Regions from separate parts of the Homo sapiens genome. Here region 2 is linked to region 1. The links are contacts of gene promoters, found by promoter capture Hi-C in human tissues and cell types (Jung and others, 2019). All regions are on one chromosome and are shown on one strand. Each heading gives the region's core, a stretch centred on a gene start or on the middle of the fragment in contact. The rest is flanking DNA. Distances are from core to core; before and after follow the strand shown.

Region 1 (4,831 bases), core at 1,496-3,995:
GTTTATAACTTCATAATTGCACTTACCAACTAGCTGAGCTACTGTATTGCTTTGGACTCATTCTCGAAACTTGGAAAAGATGAATTTCTCACTTAAAAAATTAGGCAGTGCTGTAACTGGTTATGCCCCCCTGGTTGTAATTTACCATACCATACAGCGGAACAAAAGTGGCACAAACTGGACTTGTGATCCATTCCAATGCAGACTGCCATCTGCTGCACATACACAGGATGTCTCCCAAGCAAGATTCAACCTTAGTGTCTCTCAGGGACCTTTACCAGAACATCTATTCTTTCTGGTAAGTTGTTTGCTCCCATATTCACCTAATATATGTACTCAAATCAACACCTACTTACAGGAGAATTCCCATTCATGGGGTTTTGAAATAGCAATACTTTCATAATGGACAATAGTAAATTTTATAAGGGAGGAGAGAGATGTAAAGGAGCATTTGCACTTTACAATGAAAAGAACACAATAAGAGGTGAGAATATCTCAGATGAGTGGGAGTCCTAAAACTTACGTATTAGCTAACGTAACCTTGGCCAAGTCTCTCTCTTTTTAGGGCCTCAATATCTTTTAAATGGAATTTCTTGTAAAGAATCACAGACTATCCTATGGAAACAGCTGTATACATGATGGCTTCAGAAGAATTGTAGAAAAATAAAATGTTTATACACTTTAAATAATCAGGTTCAATTTTTTTCAAAATCTTACAATTCTAAATTCATGTACAAGTCACCATTCCCATAACATTCCTGCCCTTTAGAAATAACACTTCGTTTTAATTGTGCTTTCAGTTACAAATTCAGCACTTCATTTTTACCCACCCTAGAATAGCACAGAGAACACCTTCGTGAAGTATCCCCACAAGGGAGACACTCACAGCCTGACAAATTTGCATAGTGGAAAATATACAAGGCACAAATTTTTTAAAATGCTAAATGAATATCACACCCAAACAGTCTTAAAAACTGTGCAAAGTCAGAAGATGTCTTATCAAAATATGGACTTAAGGACAACTTGGGAAGCCTTTAAGTAGTTCGACGGAAAGGGGAATGCAATCAAAATTTGGGGTGGCCTTATGTTTTTAAGAGAACAAAACACATAACTAGAGGCTATGAAACATGCAAATTAAATTGAACTGTGGAAAAGCTCTTGGCTGTCACCCAAAAGCTTCAGCAAAGCAATATGCCAGTATGCCAAATAAAAAGAGGTACAATCTTCTCACAAGAATGAGGATAGGGTCCATACCTATGACTAATAATAACAATACAACCTTGCTTTTGCAGAGCATTAGGTCTTTTCATAGATCTTTCAGGCACTCGATTTTGATGCTGTCATTGGCCTTAGGAGTATCCTCTCCGAAGAGCTCCAGTTCAGTTTCCTCTTAAGAGTTATGATCAGAACAAGGCAGGCGATGTGTTTATTGAGGGTTGAAGGTACTATTGTAGTTTCTCCTATCAAGCTGTTTGCAGTGATCCTCCAATAATCACACTATACAACTCAGCCCCAGCAAATAAAACCTACATTCTTTCCCTCAGAGCTGGCCAGAGACCAACACATATAGGTCTAGAAAGTCCAAGGGAAGGAAACCTCCTGACTTGTTAGGTTAAGAACTCCATGCCAAATTCATCTCTTGCAATTGAAAAAAGAAATCTCTCTCACACTCTGTCTCTCTCTCTCTCACACACACACACACACACACACACACTCACCCAAGAGTGTTCAAACAGAAATCCTCTTTTTCTGCCAGCCAATGAAACCCAGCAACAACTGGTTAATACAACCACCAAATCTCTGCCTCTGTCAACAACTTACCATATTCGCTTCTCCTGTGCCTGCTGACCACCCTTCCCGCTTCAGGCACGCGTGAACACGCTTATACAGTAGCCCTCGAAAGGACCCCCAAAAGCACCTTTAAGGACCCAAGAGGATGAAGCTTGCCTCCTGAAGCAATGCAGCATCCATCTCGAGGGAGCCGGTTCCCCATGCACACACACAGAGGAAGTCACAGAGGGGAATAAAGTTTGATTTTCCTTCCTGCCCGACCCCTCGGGGACGAGAGAGGACGAGGGGCGGCCCCGCCGGGGTCCTGGGCTGCTCTCCGGGGCAGCTCCCAGCAGCATGGCACTGCCACTCTCCTGGCACACACAAGGCGGCCGCGGCAACTCAGAACTCCCCAACCCGCCCGGAGGAGGAGGGAAAGGGGACAACTTCCATCTGGCTCCGTTCAGGGAGCCTTGGGGCAGGGCTGTTAAGAACGAAGAAGGGAGGGAACGCGATTGGGGGCGAGTCGGGGAGAGGTTCAAGTCCCGTGCCTTCCCCGCCCTGGTGTCCCCAGTCCTGCGGGAACATCCCCGCCGTCGCCCCTCCTCCTCCTCTCGGCTTCCTCCCGCCCGCCCTCCCTTCCTGGTCGCCGCCGCAGGCGCCTGAAGGGCACGGCGGCTCCTCGGTGCCCGGCAACCTCCGGAGCGGCCGGGAGTTGAGGTAACTCGCCTGCTGCCCCGGCGGCCTGCCCGCCGGCGGCTCCCACACGCCAGCGCCGCCCCGCCCTCCCCGGAGCCTCCGGGCGCGCTCGCTCACCGTCCGGTGGTGCTGCTGCTGCCGGTGGCGGCTGACGCCCAGCCCAGGGAAGCAGCCGGCAGTCAGCGCCCCGCAGCCGCCGGCGCCCCCGCCGCCGCCGCCCCGAGAGGAGAGGAGCAGCAGGAGCGATCTACCTGCGGCGGCCGCCATCTCTCAACTGGAAACGGCGCCGACCCAGGCAGCGCAGCGGACGGCCAGGGCGGAGCTAAGACCCGCCACTCACCGACGCCGGGCCAACTAAAGCCCTTGACTGAGTTGATGAGGCGGGGCTTCCTGCAAGGTCCAATCGACAGGCGGGAGAACCACACTGGAAGCTGCCAGTCCCTTCCAGAGTTACCTATAGTGGGACATAGTCAATTACGGGCAAATTCTAGGGAACCCATAATTGACACCCAAACCCGTGAAAATAACAGCAATAGAGATGGCATGTTCAGTTCGGCTAATCTTCACCAACAATAGAGCTATGATAAGAGTAACGGGGGATATAGATATTTGTGAAAAGCTTTGTTCGAAGTTGAGTTCTAAGTGAGTGTTCTAAGTTGGCAAAATAGGCACCAAATTAATAACCATTAACGGTGTATGCTGTAACTCTCAACTACACGCCTAGAATTATCATTCATAACTGATAATATTTAGATATGCTGAAATTAACTCTACATCACGGAGTGATCTAATGACTGTGATGCGTAGCATAATATAGGAGAGGTAGAACGATTACAATATCAAAGTCCCAGAATGAGTACATGCCTTCAGAGTGAATTAACTGACGTGTATACATCTCAAATACCCAATTCATTTTTACAGCACCTTTATACGGATATTCTCACACTCTCCAGAAACAGCACTATTTTATCATATTTGACTTTGTGTGCATTTACAGAAACAGAACACATTAATAACGTAATAAAAAATCATGTAAGGCCGGGCGCGGTGGCTCACGCCTGTAATCCCAGCACTTTGGGAGGCAGAGGCGGGCGGATCACGAGGTCAGGAGATCGAGACCATCCTGGCTAACACGGTGAAACCCCATCTGTACTAAAAATACAAAAAATTAGCCAGGCGTGGTGGCGGGCGCTTATAGTCCCAGCTATTCCGGAGGCTGAGGCAGGAGAATGGTGTGAACCCGGGAGACGGAGCTTGCAGTGAACCGAGATCGGGCCATTGCACTCCAGCCTGGGCGACACAGCAAGACTCCATCTCAAAAAAAAAAAAAAAAATTCATGTAAAAGGCTATTTTAATGATGCTTCATAATTTTGCCGAAATAGTTATCAGAATACGCTTTGGAATAACAAACACTTTCTCTTGAAAAACACTTCTTTCCACTTAAACTCACAATGAGGGCTCCTTGAATACTGCCTAAGAAAGATTTTGGGTCCTGAATTTCCTTAGAAGAGTATTTCCTTGCTAGCTGTTTATTATTATGAGCTGATTAAATTCTCACACCTCTTTTTAAAATCTGGAGCAGGAAAATAGTTTGGGAAGCAAATACAAGCATTATTTTAAATTTTGGAAAACATCTTTGTAGTGTAGCCTTAGATGATAAATTTAAAACAAAAACAAAACACACACATAAATACGAAGAAAATGTTATCACTTATTCTAAGAATATTCTTTAAAGTTTGACTGAAATGGTACCTTCTTGGCCAAGAATAGCTAAAAAATGACGTGGAAGTTTTTTGTTTGTTTAATCCTTATGCCCCACCTACACCAAAACAGTGAGATGATTGGCTTCTCCGGGGTAGATATCATGTCACTCACTCAAAAGGCTTTATTGCCCAACAGGTGGAACTTGAGACCTCAAGAATGAGCCCCCATTCAACAGCTGCACACAGTAATCCCCCTAGTTGGAAATCCATGACATTCCTGGAACAATTTCCCTTACAATTATTTTCCACCCATCTATATTTATCCCAACTGCATTTGATGTATTTACCCATGCTGTGCCATTTTCTCTCTCACCCCTTCATGCCTTCTTACAGAGATCACCATGGATTTTAGTTTTGTTTTTATTTTCTGTGCTGTCACCAGATCTAGCTATGAATCAGGATTGCTCCATTTCCACTTTCCACTTTAAGAAATTTTACTAGAATTGCCTTTACTCTATTTTTCCAAGCATGAAAATTAGATGTGCATCCTGCAGTGAGATTTACTCATATGCATTAGCAAAAGAACTAAGTAAATAATACTTTTAAGTGCACAAACATGAAATGGGCAGTATTAGCAAAAGTTTTCATCCTACCTATT
Region 2 (4,831 bases), core at 1,493-3,992, 93 kb before region 1:
AAACAAAAAAGAAAATAACCAATTCTCAGACAAGGTCTATGGCTGCTAAGAGGTTACAATCTAATTGGCAAGGCAGGACACAATAATAAAAATAGACATATATTGGTTTATAACAACGCTTAAATGCCAAATGAGAGGTAAACTCAATGAAATTGGCTGGCCACGGTGGCTCATGCCTATAATCTCAGCACTTTGGGAGGTTGAGGTGGGCAGATTACCTGAGGTCAGGAGTTCAAGACCAGCCTGGCCAACATGGTGAAACCCCATCTCTACTAAAAATACAAAAATTAGCTGGGCATGGTGGCACACACCTGTAATCCCAGCTACTCTCGAGGCTGAGGCAGGAGAACTGCTTGAAGCCGGGAGGCGGAGGTTGCAGTGAGCTGGGATTGCGCCACTCCACTCCAGCCTGGGCGACAGAGCGAGATTCTGTCTCAAAAAACAAACGAAACAAAAACTCAGTGAAACTTGTATAACCAAAAGAAACTGAATTTTCAATGAGAAAAAATTACCGTGGGCGGGAGTGGCCAGAGAAGGCTTCGTGGAGATAGGACTTCAGCTGGGTTTAGAAGGACATGTTATTTTGTAAGATGCAGCAGATTTGTCTTTCAAATCATGTTTTGTTTAGCTTAACATGAAAATAATTTTTATTACATTATTAAATGGATAGAAATTTACCCTTTAAGCGTGAGATTAAAATATGGTCCTTGAAAAACCCCTCTCTCTCCATATATAAATTTTCTTTGCTATTTTGCTATTTGACATTGGGGATGTAAGGATTCATAAGAGAGAGTGGAAAAGCACACATTTGGTGATTTGTGTAAGAACAAGTGCTATGGGAAATAACCTAAATACCTAATATTCTACCAGTGATGGCATGTTTCCAGGAGGATTAAATTTAGTGAGAAAACTGAAAAAGCAGTGCTTTTGTGCTTCAAAATACTTTATTTATTTATTTTTACTTATTTATTTATTTTGAGACATTGTCTCGCTCTGTTGCCCAGGTTGGAGTGAAGTGGCACAATCTCGGCTCATTGCAACCTCCACCTGCTGGGTTCAAGCGATTCTCCTGCCTCAATCTCCCGAGTAGCTGGGATTACAGGCGCCTGCCACCACGCCCTGCTAATTTTTGTATTTTTGGTAGAGACGGGGTTTCGCCATGTTGACCAGTCTGGTCTCGAACTCCTGACCTCCACGTGATCTGCCCGCCTCAGCCTCCCAAAGTGCTGGGGTTATAGGAAAGAGCCATGGCACCCAGCCATGCTTCAAAATAATTTAATCCCAACAAATCTGTAAATTAGTAACTTACATTCCAGTTCTTCCAATGAGAAAACTGAGGCACACAGAGCACACAGAGCTAAGAATGAGCACAGCCAGGATCTGAAATCAAATATATCTGATTCTCAACCCATCTCTTTTTACTATGTGACTCATTTTTAGGTAACAAAAACAGTAACTTCTCACTCTATGTTGATGTGTTCAAGTATAACACAAGAAACAGGATAAGGACATTAAAAAAACAAACTAGCCAGAATTCCACAAACAGCTAGCCAGAACTACATTAACTAAACTGGATGACATCTCTGGACATCAATCTCACATATAATGAAATGATCTCCACAGCAAATCGTTCCTTTATGTATTATCCTATTCTTGAAATTTTATTGCACAGCATAATACCGTTTTTTCACACAGTGCTTGTTCAGTCCCTATTCTACGGACAATCTTCATCTCCTCAAATTGGTAAGCAACACCTTGTAGGCAAGGATATGTTATTCTTTAGAATCTCTAAAGCGTGCAATACATTCCCATAGTATATATTCAGTAAACACCTATTAAGAGTTGCTGGGCAATACTCCTTTGATTTCTATAAAAATCTCCTTTCCAAAAGGATTTTCTTCATCCATTTCTACTACGACATTGACAATTGACACTAAATTAAAACAAGTAGCTATACGTACATAATAATGTTTTTCTTGCAAATTAAACCAAGATGAAAATTGCAGCCCTTGTAAGGGTCTTACTACAGATACAAGTTACAGATGAAGTGAGCCTTTATTTCCATGAAATGAGCCAGCAGGAGAATTTTACATAAACACTAAAAGTGAAAAACTTGCAATTCTGGACTATGAGCCAACACACAAAAGAAGCTCATTTCAATCTGTCAGATAAATGCCTACTCAACAAGCATGACTTCCTGGAATATATTTGGCTATTTTATATTCTGTTTCCTTAATCTGCCACTAACTGTGACAATCTCAGAATGTTTTTGAACTTTAGGATATATTTCTATTATGCACATTTTTGAAAACTCTAAAATGTGTTTTAAAGATGCATGTCTGACTAGTTTCTGCATACCACAGGGAAGTTCATTAACCTAAGTGGTAGGGGGCAGCAGGAGGGGAGACAGGGAGACAACAGAAGCAGGGAAAGAGAAAGGAGAAACAAAGTTGTAGCTTTGGTAAACACCACCACTAACCTTGTTGCAGAGACACCAAGGTTATTAGAAAAGTGACGGCAGTAGCACTGCCAGGTTTGGCTGGAGCAGCCACCACTACCACTTGCTTCGCCGACTGTGTAATATATGTGGAAATGTGGGAGATTCTCGTGCTACATCATGAAACTGCATCTGTATGCTAAATATCTAGAGACAGGAAGAGCCCTGGAAAAGGAAAAGAAGAGCAATCCCTGTACTATGTAGAAGCCTAAAATCCTTGACAACGCAAGATTCTCCTTGAACAGCTCTATCAAGCAAGTAAAAGACACACACACCAGGAATTGGTTGACTGGTGCTTTAAAATCATTATCCATGTGTGTTTTGCTCCTCACTCCAACAAGGGCATTATATAGAGCTGAGAACACATCAGCATTTAGGAATTTCCCAAAATACTCTTGGTAGGAGGGATTCCCCACACCCAAGCCCATGAAAAGGCAAAGCTGCTCTGCAACTTACTTCAGCCAGAGAGGCAGGGTGCACAGCCAGCCCTCACTCACACACCCACGCACACATACGGACAGGCTTTCCCTAGCATCCTGCACTGAAAATGAGGAGACTGTTCCCTTGACTCCCTGCACAGTGCCACATTAACATTTTCAGAAGCTACTGGATACACAGAAGGCTTTTCCTGACAAACAAGGACATCCAGAGATCTAATCCCTGCTGACAACTGCTTTGTGGAACTTTCTGTCCTTTTCAGACATGCCTACTTAAATCTATTCTTTAACCTCTCCTGCAACCAAATGTAGCCAATTAAAAATTGTACTTACCTTCAACAAAATGGGAAAATTACTCACAGCTACAAGGTGGCTTGATTTTAAGTAAATGAATCACATTTATATTAGCTTTAAAAATCACAATTACTATTTGCATAAGACACATCCTTCTAAGAGATCTATCAAAACAGAGCAACATTTTCCAAACGTGACAGTATTAATTTGATAGGATCTGAAAAAACAAAGCCTTTGTACTTCCCTTTTAGTGAAATTCAAAGTAATCTCTCTGAATTACATACTCTTTATATTGTTCTCAAGAGGGAGCAGAAGAAAATCTTCTTTTGGAAAATGTCATCCCCTGAGAGATCCAGGTAAGTGGGCATTCATCTTTGCAGTACAACATGAGGGGTTAAGCAAGGAGCTACACCATCCAACGGTGCCCGGCTTTCCCCCGGCTTCACTTGGATCAAGCAGCAGGGTTAATTACGTGGAACAGCCAAAAAGGTAAAGTAACTGGGTATTGACTTTTGGGGGCTGGTAATTTCTATAGTGCCTATGGCTCTAGACTTCCTAATAAGCTTTTCCTTAATCTGCTTTTGAAACTAAAGAGTCAAGAACAAAGTAAAACAATTTTTTAAAAAGAAATAAAGAAAGAAACAAGCAACATCCTCCCCACTCCCCAACATTTGGAGCTAATCATGGGGAAAATCCTTCCTATAGGCATTTGATTTTAGGTACTTGTCACATTTTCTTTCCCAACTCCACTCCACCCCACTCTATGCGTTTTTCTTGGCATGATCTCTCTCCCTTCCTTTGAGAAAATAAACTGCATTTGCTCTATATTAACACTTCAGATACAACAGCTCCCCCCAACAAAATCCTCTCTTTATCCTGGAAGGTTTAACTTGACATGTTTTTTTCCTCAGAAGAAACCAGGCTAGAAATCCCAACACTGCTCCACTAAGTAAACTCTCCTAGGAAGAGAGGATTCACATGGCATATGCAAAGCCTCCTAGATGCCAAAGAGTTGAATAAGTGGCACATGGCATATGCAAAGCCTCCTAGATGCCAAAGAGTTGAATAAGTGGCATGTGGCAGTTCCACACCTGAGTCCAAAACACATCCCTTCAAAGAGCCACCAGTGTGATGTCCTCAATAATATTCTAAAATGAATAGCATCACACTGTTTTGGACATGAAGGTGATGGTTCTGAAAGGATAGGAAGGAATGTAAAACATAATCTATTTTAAAGTATCTGGAGGCTCTACATATAATGTAACTAGGTGGTATGCCTATGCCAGATGATAAAATCTAATTTGAAAAGTCTACACATTGACATTCTCTACCAAGGTGGAGCACACACAATGCGGTGGTTTCATTCAAACTATTCAATGAAGTACTTAGGGTGAATATTGATTATGCTTAAAGTGCATTCCACAAATACTTCAAACAAACTGAGTTATTTCCTTTTTCCATGGCCAGAAACTCCCTTCGCATTTTCCTATAGGAAGCTTAAATATAAGCTCTCATATTTAAGCCTCAACTGATTCTGCAAATTGCTCAGGTTTGCCTTAGGTTCAGTGAAAGACATAACCAGTCACAAATATTTCTAAACTCC

What was found. Contacts are between HindIII fragments. The study calls those that stand out against the background at their distance.
Region 2: a contact is called between a fragment that was not itself captured here and the fragment with the promoter of MCU in region 1, in 4 of the 25 tissues and cell types used here (aorta, dorsolateral prefrontal cortex, heart left ventricle and 1 more).

What each region holds. Positions count from the first base shown.
Region 1 is chr10:72,690,057-72,694,887 of GRCh38, reverse strand. MCU (mitochondrial calcium uniporter) reads right to left here and starts at 2,745. Exons shown (of 8, transcript NM_138357.3): 1 at 2,587-2,745. The coding sequence starts at 2,736. RefSeq lists enhancers at 1,308-1,397, 3,068-3,127 and silencers at 2,158-2,247, 2,268-2,317, 2,408-2,867. The HindIII fragment of the contact is 2,893 bases long and covers 1,560-4,452 here.
Region 2 is chr10:72,782,892-72,787,722 of GRCh38, reverse strand. All of the region lies in intron 1 of MCU (mitochondrial calcium uniporter), which reads right to left. Among named protein-coding and RNA genes, the nearest start is that of MIR4676, 64 kb to the right of the region's middle. RefSeq lists a silencer at 4,058-4,352. The HindIII fragment of the contact is 4,735 bases long and covers 375-4,831 here.